Regions from separate parts of the Homo sapiens genome. Here region 1 is linked to region 2. Evidence: promoter capture Hi-C in 16 types of primary human blood cells and fetal thymus (Javierre and others, 2016). All regions are on one chromosome and are shown on one strand. Each heading gives the region's core, a stretch centred on a gene start or on the middle of the fragment in contact. The rest is flanking DNA. Distances are from core to core; before and after follow the strand shown.

Evidence for each region. Contacts are between HindIII fragments. The CHiCAGO score rates a contact against its expected background, and 5 or more counts as called.
Region 1: a contact is called between a fragment that was not itself captured here and the fragment with the promoter of SLC16A2 in region 2, in 1 of 17 cell types (M1 macrophages). The highest score is 6.0, in M1 macrophages.

What each region holds. Positions count from the first base shown.
Region 1 is chrX:74,508,630-74,513,497 of GRCh38, forward strand. All of the region lies in intron 1 of SLC16A2 (solute carrier family 16 member 2), which reads left to right. Among named protein-coding and RNA genes, the nearest start is that of SLC16A2, 90 kb to the left of the region's middle. RefSeq lists an enhancer at 2,092-2,141. The HindIII fragment of the contact is 780 bases long and covers 3,162-3,941 here.
Region 2 is chrX:74,419,625-74,424,842 of GRCh38, forward strand. It overlaps SLC16A2 (solute carrier family 16 member 2), which reads left to right and starts at 1,869. Exons shown (of 6, transcript NM_006517.5): 1 at 1,869-2,443. The coding sequence starts at 2,014. It overlaps LOC105373252 (a long non-coding RNA gene), which reads right to left and starts at 1,024. Exons shown (of 2, transcript XR_007068267.1): 1 at 682-1,024. The HindIII fragment of the contact is 8,329 bases long and covers 27-5,218 here.

The DNA of each region.
Region 1 (4,868 bases), core at 2,302-4,801, 91 kb after region 2:
CTGTAAATAAAGACGGTTTTACTTCTTCATTTCCTACCTGTGTGTCTTCTATTTCTTTTTGCTGTCTTGTTTGTTCGTTTTTAACTTTTATTTTAGGTTTGGGGGTACATGTGAAGATATGTTACATAGGTAAACATGTGTCACGGGGGTTTGTTGTACATATTATTTTATCACCCAGGTATTAAGCCCAGTACCCAGTAAATATCTTTTCTGCTACTCTCCCTCTTCCCACCCTCCCACGTCTTCTTACTGTCTTATTGCATTAGCTAGAACCTCCAATGGAATGTTAAATAGAATTAGTGAGAGCAGACATCCTTTTTGTATCCTTTTTGTTTGTTTGTTTGTTTGTTTGAGACAGGGTCTCACTCTGTTGCCCAGGCTGGAGTGCAGTGGTGCGATCACACTCACTGTAGCCTCCACCTCCCCAGGCTCAGGTGATCCTACTGACTCAGCCTCTTGAGTAGCTGGAACTCCAGGTGCGTGCCACCAGGCCTAGCTAATTTTTGTATTTTTTGTAGAGAGTGGGGTCTCACTATGTTGCCCAGGCTGGTCTTGAACTCCTGGACTCAAGTGGTCCACCCGCCTCGGCCTCCCAAATTGCTGGGATTAGAGGTGTGACCCACTGCACCTGGCACCCTATTCCTAACCGTAGTGTGGAACCATTCAGTCTTTCACAAGATGATGTTAGCTATAGGCTTTTCATGGTTGCCCTCTATCAGGTTGTGAAAGTTCCCTTGTATTTCTGGTTTGCTAAGAGTTTTTTTAAAATTTTGAATGGATACTGGATTTTGTCAAATGCTTTTTCTGCATTGGTTGAGATGATTATATATACATTTTTAATTTTAAGTCTGGTATAACTGCATATTGCATTGATCGATTTTTGAATGTTGAACTAACCTTGCATTTCCAGGATAAATCACACTTGATCATGATGTTTTTTCCCCTTTTTTTTGAGATGGAGTCTCACTCTGTTGCCCAGGCTGGAGTGCAGCGGCGCAATCTCGGCTCACTGCAACCTCCACCTCCTGGGTTCAAGCGATTCTCCTTCCTCAGCCTCCCGAGTAGCTGGGACTACAGGCACGTGCCACCACGCCCGGCTAATTTTTTTGTATTTTTTTAGTAGAGACAGAATTTCACCATGTTGGCCACGCTGGCTTGAACTCCTGACCTCAAGTGATCCACCCACCTCGACCACCCAAAGTGCTGGGATTACAGGCGTGGGCCACCGCTCCCAGCCTATCCTTTTTAGATATTGTGGGATTCAATTTGCTAAAATGTTAAGAGTTTGAAACTGTGTTCAGGATGGATCTTCATCTGTCATTTTCTTTTCTTGTGATGTTTTTTATCTGGTTTTGGTGTCAGGGTAATACTGGCCTTATAGAATGAGCTGAGAAGTGTTTCCTCCAATTTTTTGGAAGAGTTTGTGTAGAACTGGTATTATCTCTTCCTTAAATGTTTGGAATTCACAATTGAAGCCAACTTGGTCAGCCCCTCTATGATTCATATGGGCCCTTTCATTTTTAACATCTTGCAGTTCTAATAAGACCCTGTCATCAATCTTTTTATGTTAGATATGTGTGTCTCTTCTCTGTCTCCTTATTTCTTGTCTGTCTTTGCCTTTGGCCTGTTTCCCATACTTTCCATTAGGTGAATGTCTGACAATCTGAGTCTGTAGGTGCTGGGCCAGCCTTCTCAGAGAAAGATGAGGAAACTGTTTCAAGTCATAGTTTCTCCCAACACTGGTGTGTTTTAGTAAAAAAAAAAAACAAAACAAAACACCTGTAATCTGCCTTAGCTACTAAAGTAGATAACTGACCATTGTCCAAAACCAGTGGGTTCAAATCAGTGGCCATAGGCCATTAAGTAGAGCCCAGTTACCCTTGAAGGACTGGGACAAGAGTTAAAATGTCTCATTTTCAGACTTGGCATGGGCACTCTTAAGTGTAGGTCTCTCTGTTTGACTCTGTCTCAGTTTGACTCTCTGTAAAATTAGTAACTGAACCCCTAAATCTTCTAACTCCAAAACTGAAAGTAAATAAACAATAGCTGCAGAGGGAAGCAGGCCAAATAACCTAATATGGAGGTAATAAGACAACTTATATTTTCAGTGAATATTTGACTTTAAAACCTTTGAAACTTGGGCTGGGCATAGTGGCTCATACCTGTAATCTCAGAGCTTTGGGAGGCTAAGGAGGGAGGACGGCTTGACACCAGGAGTTTGAGACCAGCCTAGGCAACATAGCAAGATCCCATCGCTTCAAAAACTTAAAAAAAAAAAAAAAATAGCCGGGTGTGGTGGTGCATTGGTGCGTGCCTGTAGTACTAGCTACCCTCAGGAGACTGAGGTGGGATGATAGCTTAAGCATGGGAGCTTGAGGCTGCAGTGAGCCATGATTGTGCCACTGCACTCCAGCCTGGGTGACAGAGCAAGACCCTGTCTCTAAAAAGAAAACAAAGTTTTGAAATTCAAATTAGGTAGCCCACGAAAATTGGCATGTCTTGAGACAAAATGTGGAGAGATAAAAATGAGATTCGTGGTTTTTTTTATTTTATTTATTTTATTTTTTTTTGAGACGGAGTCTCGCTCTGTCGCCCAGGCTGGAGTGCAGTGGCCCGATCTCGGCTCACTGAAAGCTCCGCCTCCCAGGTTCGCGCCATTCTCCTGCCTCAGCCTCCTGAGTAGCTGGGACTATAGGCACCCGCCACCGTGCCCGGCTAATTTTTTGTATTTTTAGAAGAGACGGGATTTCACCGTGTTAGCTATGATGGTCTCTATCTCCTGACTTCGTGATCCTCACGCCTCGGCCTCCCAAAGTGCTGGGATTACAGGCGTGAGCCACCGCACCCGGCCGCGATTTGTTTAGATATGGAATGCTTGGAAAGTAATGTTTCCTAGTATTGCTGTGCCACCCCCAGAAAAACACCATCACATTATAATGAAGAAAAAAGTAAGATACTGAGAGGACCCAATGCCAGGACAAATATGAAAGTACTTTTGGACTTTTAAAATAAAGATTTGCTAGAAATATGAAGTAGAATTCTAGACACAATGGATGGATGGTGAGTAGCTACCAAAGTAAATGGGCTTAGAGTGTCTGAGTGCTGGAAGAAAGAGCTTTTCAACACAGTGTTTGTCAGAAAATGGAAAAAGGTTTGAAAGAAGCTTCTCTGAGCAAGAGTGTTTCATCTATTCACTGGACAGACAGTTATGTAGCACTTAACTCTGGGCCCTGCACAAGGCCAGGGAAATAATTAATAAATGACGCTCAGCTGGAGGTCACTCTTCTGGTGAGCCGCAGAGATAAGGGCTCCTGTTATCTCAGTCCCCAAAGAAGAACAGAGTCTTGCATTTCTTCCCTCTGGAGCTCCCCAGCTGACCCCTGAAGTGCCTTCACCTACATCCTCCTTTTAAATATGTTTCACCAATTCTTTCAGTCATCTCACTAATGCGTGCCCACCACCTGGCTGGATGTGCCGGCATAAGTCATCACAGTCCTAAGCTGCCTGCTACCTACCACACACTGTCCCCATGCCAAACCAATACCATTCCAACTATCCCATTTATTCAAACTAGATGTAGACACATCACCATGTTCTGGGAACTCTGAAGAGGTGTGGTGATGGGGCAGAAGCAAGTGAATATTTCCGGCAACACAGAATCCAATTCATGGTGCCATTCTCTCCACTTAGCACTGGGTATAGCAGTTGGATAGCTTAGCCTTAGAACCTGTCCTCTTAATCCTATTTGCTATTCTCTCACTGTACTGTGCATCTTGTCAGGAAGTAGGGGCTCTTGAATAGAGCCATCTCTGCCCCTGTGTCAGCCACCTTATCTCTCTTCCTATCTACCCTTGACCTATCTTTGACCTTTATTTGACTTTGCACCGTCATTCCCTCATTTGAGCTTTTGTTAGTTCCCCACAATAAAAGGAATTTATGAAAGCTTGTGATGTATTTGGAGAGTTTGGCTCTTGGAGTACCCCCTCTCTCTCTTTCAACTCAGAGAGGTTGGCTTTCAGCAGCCAAGGAGTGAGGAATCTGGTCTCACACTTGAATTATTTTCTGAGCAGTCTCCTGTACTTCAAAGACATTAGCCTGAGTGCCTGGGTAAGGAGCCAAGGCACTAATTGAGTATTTGAGTAAAAAGACTTTGAGGATGAGGAAGCTTGAGGGCCAACAGATCCAGGATGGTGCTGGAAAAGCCAGAGTTCTGGTGTTGTGCTGCCCAGGTCCAACAGAAATCTAGTTAGATATGGGTGCTTTGAGGAGGAAAGTAGGGGTGCCTGCTGAATACAGACATATGTTCACTTAGGTACAGGCCTTTTGGGGCCAAGTCTCACTCCATGATACCATAGGAGAGGGGTAGGCCTTGTTACCGCTGAGAGGGGAAGGTTAAGGTTGAAAATAACTCTGGGAACCACTGAGGAAAAGTGTGAATGGTATAATAATTATACCATTGAATTATATGAATTATAATAGTTCATCCTCAAAATCCAAGGATCTGTTGAACACAAAATTTATTAGTCAGGAATCAGATACTTGCTCAGCACTTATGCACTGTGGATTGAAAATAATGCTTTCTCCCTGATGGAATGTTACAAGGTTCCACCTCTGATTTTTCCAAGTCTGTTTAGAAAGATAGGTCTGTACATTGCCTGTTAAAATCCACCCAACTCTCCCACGAATCTCAGCTGCTTCACTGAAATCTCTTTCTTTGTCTTCCCCATATAAGAGCAGGGGTAATTATGGGGAATGAAAGAAACTCCTAGCTTTGAGTCCAAGAATTGTTAGAATTCTAGAAAACCTCTACCTACTCTTTGCATTTTCCAAAATGGGAAACTGAATATAAGAAAGGTAAAGGATAACCA
Region 2 (5,218 bases), core at 619-3,118:
CTTTTGGTGAAACACAGGGAGCATGAAGCTTCTCGTTATATGGAGACCTGCCTTGAATTCTAGCTTGTCCTTGACTTGGCCCATGATCTTAGGCTAATAAATGCCTTGACCTCGTTGAGCCTCAGTTTTCGTGCAAAAAAGCAGGTAATAATAAACCTTAGGGCAATAAGGGACGTGCTCTGTTCGGGCAATGCCTTCCCTGCTGAGTGGCGTGGCCCTGTGATTTTTGAATTTGGCTGATTCCTCTCATATGGCAGCGCAAGCCCCTCAGGACGTCTATATCCTTCCACCCAGCTCCGCCAGCCCTCAGGTGCTTAATGACTGTATTTACAGGCATCTAGCGCAGCCACGCAGCCCCGGAGCTGCATCACCTCTGGCTATGCAGTCTTTCACTTATCAGGAGGGTTAATGAGATGCAGGGTAGAAAGGTCTTGCCACTCGCCCGCCCGCTCGTGGAAGCCGAGTAGCTTGGTAACGACACCACGACTTCACGTTTAGTGCATTAGACGCGTAGACCCTTAGGGGAGGCAGAGCTTCCCGGTATCGCCGAGCGGGCCCTGAGGGCTGAGGCTGGGCACCCCTGCGCACCCCTGCTGAGTGCCCGGCCACCAGAAAGACAGATCCCCCACCTTTCCTTCTCCCTGACCCGGCGCGCTTCCTGGGGAACAAACTCTCCCTTACCCTCAGTGGGGCTGGGGCCTCAGTCTGCGACATACAGTGGGACTCCCATGTCTGCATGCCTGAGGTGGGCGGAAGGGGGCGGTGGGTGCTGGGAAGACATCCGTCCGCTTGCAGCTCCGCTGAGTCTCCAGCACCTGAAAAGCCGCGGCCGAGGCCTGAGGGACCAGCCCAGCCGAGATATCGGGGGCGGGGCAGCCCAATCCCAAACTGGCGGCTGGACCCGACTCCAACTCGTTCCTCCTAAGTCCGGGACAGATTGTCGGGAGGAGCTTGAACTGAGCTTCGGCTCCCGACTGGGCCTGGGCCCGGCCCCCACTGGTGCCACCTCCCTCCCTTCCTGGCCCGGCTCCTGGCCCACACTCGGCCCTGGCCCGGCCCTGGCCCGGCCCAGACCCGGCCCGGCCCTGGCCCGGCCCAGACCCGGCCCTCTGAGGCTCCTCCGGGCTCCAGGTTGGCGCAAACAAAGCCCTGATTGACTGCCCGGAGGGGCGGGCCTCGCTGCATGGCCGCCTCCTCCCCTCCCAGGCCGCCAGGGATTTGCCGGGAAGAGCGGGGGCAGGGGGAGACTCCCGGGGGTGCGCAGGACCGCGGGGGGCCGAGTCCTCGGGCTCGAGAAGATTGTGTCCACCCGCTGTCCGAGGCCCAGGCTGTCCCCTCAGGTCGTCCTCCTCAAGTCCAAGGAGGGACATGGGAGCTCCTGAGGGCAGGGTGGGGTTCCTCGCGGGCCAGCTGTCGTCCTAGGGTCCCCGGTGCCACCTCAGTTGCGGGCTGCTTGTGAGGAAGGAGGGTATGGGAGCAAAAAATAGGAGGGGTCTTCCCGAGGCTCGGGGTTGATCAGTGTCGGTTCTAGAGCCTGCGGGGAAAAGAGGGCAGGAGAACAGGATAGTTTGTGCTTCCTTTTTTCCATTTTAACTTTTCCTCTAACGGGCATCCGGGCAAGAACAGGGTTCAGTAGTTTGGGAAGGGAGCTGGGGGAGGCAGTGGCGGCTGGAGTAGGTAGGCGAGTAAAAGGAGGAGGAAGGGCTGGGGAGAAGAGCGAGGCTGTAGCGGCTGCCTGTTGAGGGAGGAAGAGGTGGGGGGTGTGGAGGAGGGGGAGGAGAGAGAGATGACATGGGGAGAGGAGGAGGGGGGTTGGACGTGGGAGGAGGAGGAGAGGGCTCGAGGGACCGTCTGTCGCGGGACGGGCTGGCCAGCTGGGGCGCGGAGCCTGGAGGAGGAGGCAGCGGCAGCGGCAGCAGCAGCCCTCCGAGCAGCAGCAGCTGCAGCAGCAGAAACAAGTACCAGCCACAAAGCGGCTCCTCTGGCCCAAGCAGCCACAGTCCCCCCGCCGCGATGGCGCTGCAAAGCCAGGCGAGCGAGGAAGCAAAGGGGCCCTGGCAGGAGGCAGACCAGGAACAGCAGGAGCCGGTGGGTAGCCCAGAGCCGGAGTCTGAGCCGGAGCCTGAGCCCGAGCCCGAGCCCGTGCCAGTGCCCCCGCCCGAGCCCCAGCCGGAGCCCCAGCCCCTACCGGACCCCGCACCCCTGCCGGAGCTGGAGTTCGAGTCCGAGCGGGTGCACGAACCCGAGCCCACGCCTACGGTAGAGACCCGCGGCACCGCGCGCGGCTTCCAGCCTCCCGAAGGTGGCTTCGGCTGGGTGGTGGTGTTCGCTGCCACCTGGTGCAACGGCTCCATCTTCGGCATCCATAACTCTGTCGGGATCCTCTACTCCATGCTGCTAGAGGAGGAAAAGGAAAAAAATCGCCAAGTGGAGTTCCAAGCAGGTGAGTGGCCCCGCACGCCCCACTTGGCATTTTGGGCAAGGTTGGCCGCTCCCGCTGCCACCGACCCCATACCTCCCGGTCCGAGGCGCCCCTCCAACGCGCCTCTCCGACTCCTCCCCTTACCCCTTACCCCTTGCCCCTTGCCCCTTTCCATGGCTCTCCTAGGGTGCGGGTTGCGGGGCTTTGGGCAGCTTGGACTGGGGAGACTAGGTGCAAGGCGTCCCGGGGGTACGAACTGGGACATTCATTGATCCTTGGCAAGCAATGGACTTTTTTTTGCCCTGGGACAAATCTAAATGCACCTTTCAGGTTTAAGGTACCTTTGCCCCTGTGTGCTGGGGGAAAATATTTGCAGGACTTTTTTTTTTTTTGGAGGTGGGGAGAAGTCATGAGGAGAGGAGAGAATTGAGAGGCGGGGCGGGCTCTGAGAGAAGCACTGTACCGCTGATCTCCGCAGCAGCCCCCCGGTTCCTTTGGGGAAACGGAGGTGTTTTCTGTTAAAAACACTTTAGGAATCCTGATGACTATGAGCGAAGAGTCAAACACATGGCAGGCGTGCGTGTCTGCAAGAGAGAAAGGGAGGGAGGGAGTTCGAGTCGGGGTGTGAGTGCGTCTCTGGCCGCCGCCGTTACGGCCCAGCTGGGCCCGGCAGTCCTCTGCCGCCCCGCGGGAGTGAATGGATCTCCGTGCCCTATGAGCCGAGCCCCAGAGCGGGCGGGGAGGCGGTCTCCGCAGTCTCCTGCCAGAGAGGCGTGAGGCCGCAGGCAGGCTGGGCCCTGCTGCTCACTCCGCACCGCCCCCAACTTCAGCCCTGCCTTCCCCGGCAACCCGCGCCTCTCTGCTACCGGTGGGGTGCCTCGTTCGGCCTACAGCCTGAGTGCCAGACCCGCCATTCCAGCTTTCCCCTGGAGCTGACTTGATCTCAGACAGAGTTGGGGGGCATAGCCCTCGCTTTCCAGGCCAGTGGACGCAAGACCCCAGGCGTGTGCGCTCTTCTCATTGAGGCCGCCTGTGAGCTGGGAGAAGTCAGAGGAACCATCTCGCTTTCCCAGCAAAGCCGCTGGCGAAATCCCTCAGCAGTTCTGGTGAGGGATTCAGACGAAGACGGGGGATTGGGATGCCCTCTCTGGCAAGGCTTGCTCCCTCTCGTGGCTCCTCAGGACAGCTCGACTCTTGCCACCAGCCCCAAGTTCACAACTCAGAATATGTGGCTTTTCGCAGTGTTGCCCTCGGACTGAGGAGTTCCATCCTCTCGCCAACCTCCAACCCCCACATATTTCTACTGCCATTTGAGGGGACCTGGGAATTATTAAGTGAACATAGAAACCTTGAATTCTGGAGTGTCCACCTGTGGATTCCCTGGGCCCTCTCCAGGACTTGTGGTTTTAGTTTGCAGCTTTGCTGGACTTCCCTGGCAGAAGGGGCTTTGGGGATCTTGGTGCCTCAGACCTTGTGATCCATTGGCACAGCAGCGGTGTGCAGGCCCCGATGAAGATAGTGCGTCAGTGGTTGTCAAAGGAAGTCTCTTGACTACCCAGGCCCACTGTGATGCTGGAATGGAGGGGTCCTGGGACAGTGTAGAGCAACTTCTGCGGGGAAGATGGCTGCCACAGTCACCCCTGGGACCACCTTTTTCCCTGCTTTGATGCAGTTCAGGGGCTCCTGGGAAAGCAGGCAGTGTAGGGACTCATGCTGTTGCCTAGGTTACCTCCAAGGGCACCTGCTGAGCATTGCCCTGTGGTTGAAGGCAGGCTGTTGGCCTTCAGGATCAGTGAGTGGCAAAGTCTGAGTGAAACTTGATGAGAAGCAGTAGAGGCTAGGCTGAAGCTAGGCCCTGGCATTTATATGGTGTGAGGAGGCCTAGAGCTGTGATCTTAGGAGTGTATAATAAAACTTGGAAAAACCACTATTTTACCAGGAAGAGGCTCACTGCTGGGGAACAGACTTCAAAGTAGGTGATCATAGGGGACTCAGGGGGAGGGCTGGCTGGGACTTTCCGGTCAAGACCTCACAGTGCAGCTAGAGGGTGGGGGTGGTGGTGGGGGTGCAGTTGGCTATGCAGAGGTGTGGCTAGTGCATACTCTGACACAGACCAGGTTCACTGAGGGGCTGAGGTCACTGGTTTAAATTATAGTGAGTATAGGTCAGGAAGAAACAGAAAGGAATTTGGTATGTCCCTAGGGTCTCAGAATACTTTGGCTTGGGTCCTTGCTGTGGTGTATCTTGAACTCACTGACATTATTTTTTATACTAGAGGTTCTTAGGGACACCACAGTTTTTATTTTGGAAAAGTCAGGAACACCCTATCACATGGAGCTCCTAGAAAATCTCATCCTCAGTACTACCTTTGCTGAGCTCTTCAACTTTCCCAAGCAACCATTCAGATCCTGAGATTCTGAATGTCTTTGCCTGCAGACACTTTCTGCTGTTTACTCAAAATTTCCCAGCCGTCTGTGCCACAGCACTGGTGTCTCAAAGGGATAGAAGAAGCTAATAGAAGTTTGTGTCATTTTTATCAGCCAGTATTTGTCCAATAGCCATTCTGGGAGAAACAGAATGTACACCCCCACGCTCAAGGAATTTGGTGCATCGTCCATTTTTATTAATATCTGACATGACTTCCATCTCTAAGAGTCTATGAATTTGGTGTTTGGAGGCACCTCGTAACCCAATTTCTCTTTGACTAGGCCTAATATCTTCACAGACCTAAAGCTGTGTTGAGTGGCTTAATGGGTGGAAGGTCCTGCAGATGATTGGGATTGTTGTGAGGAAGCC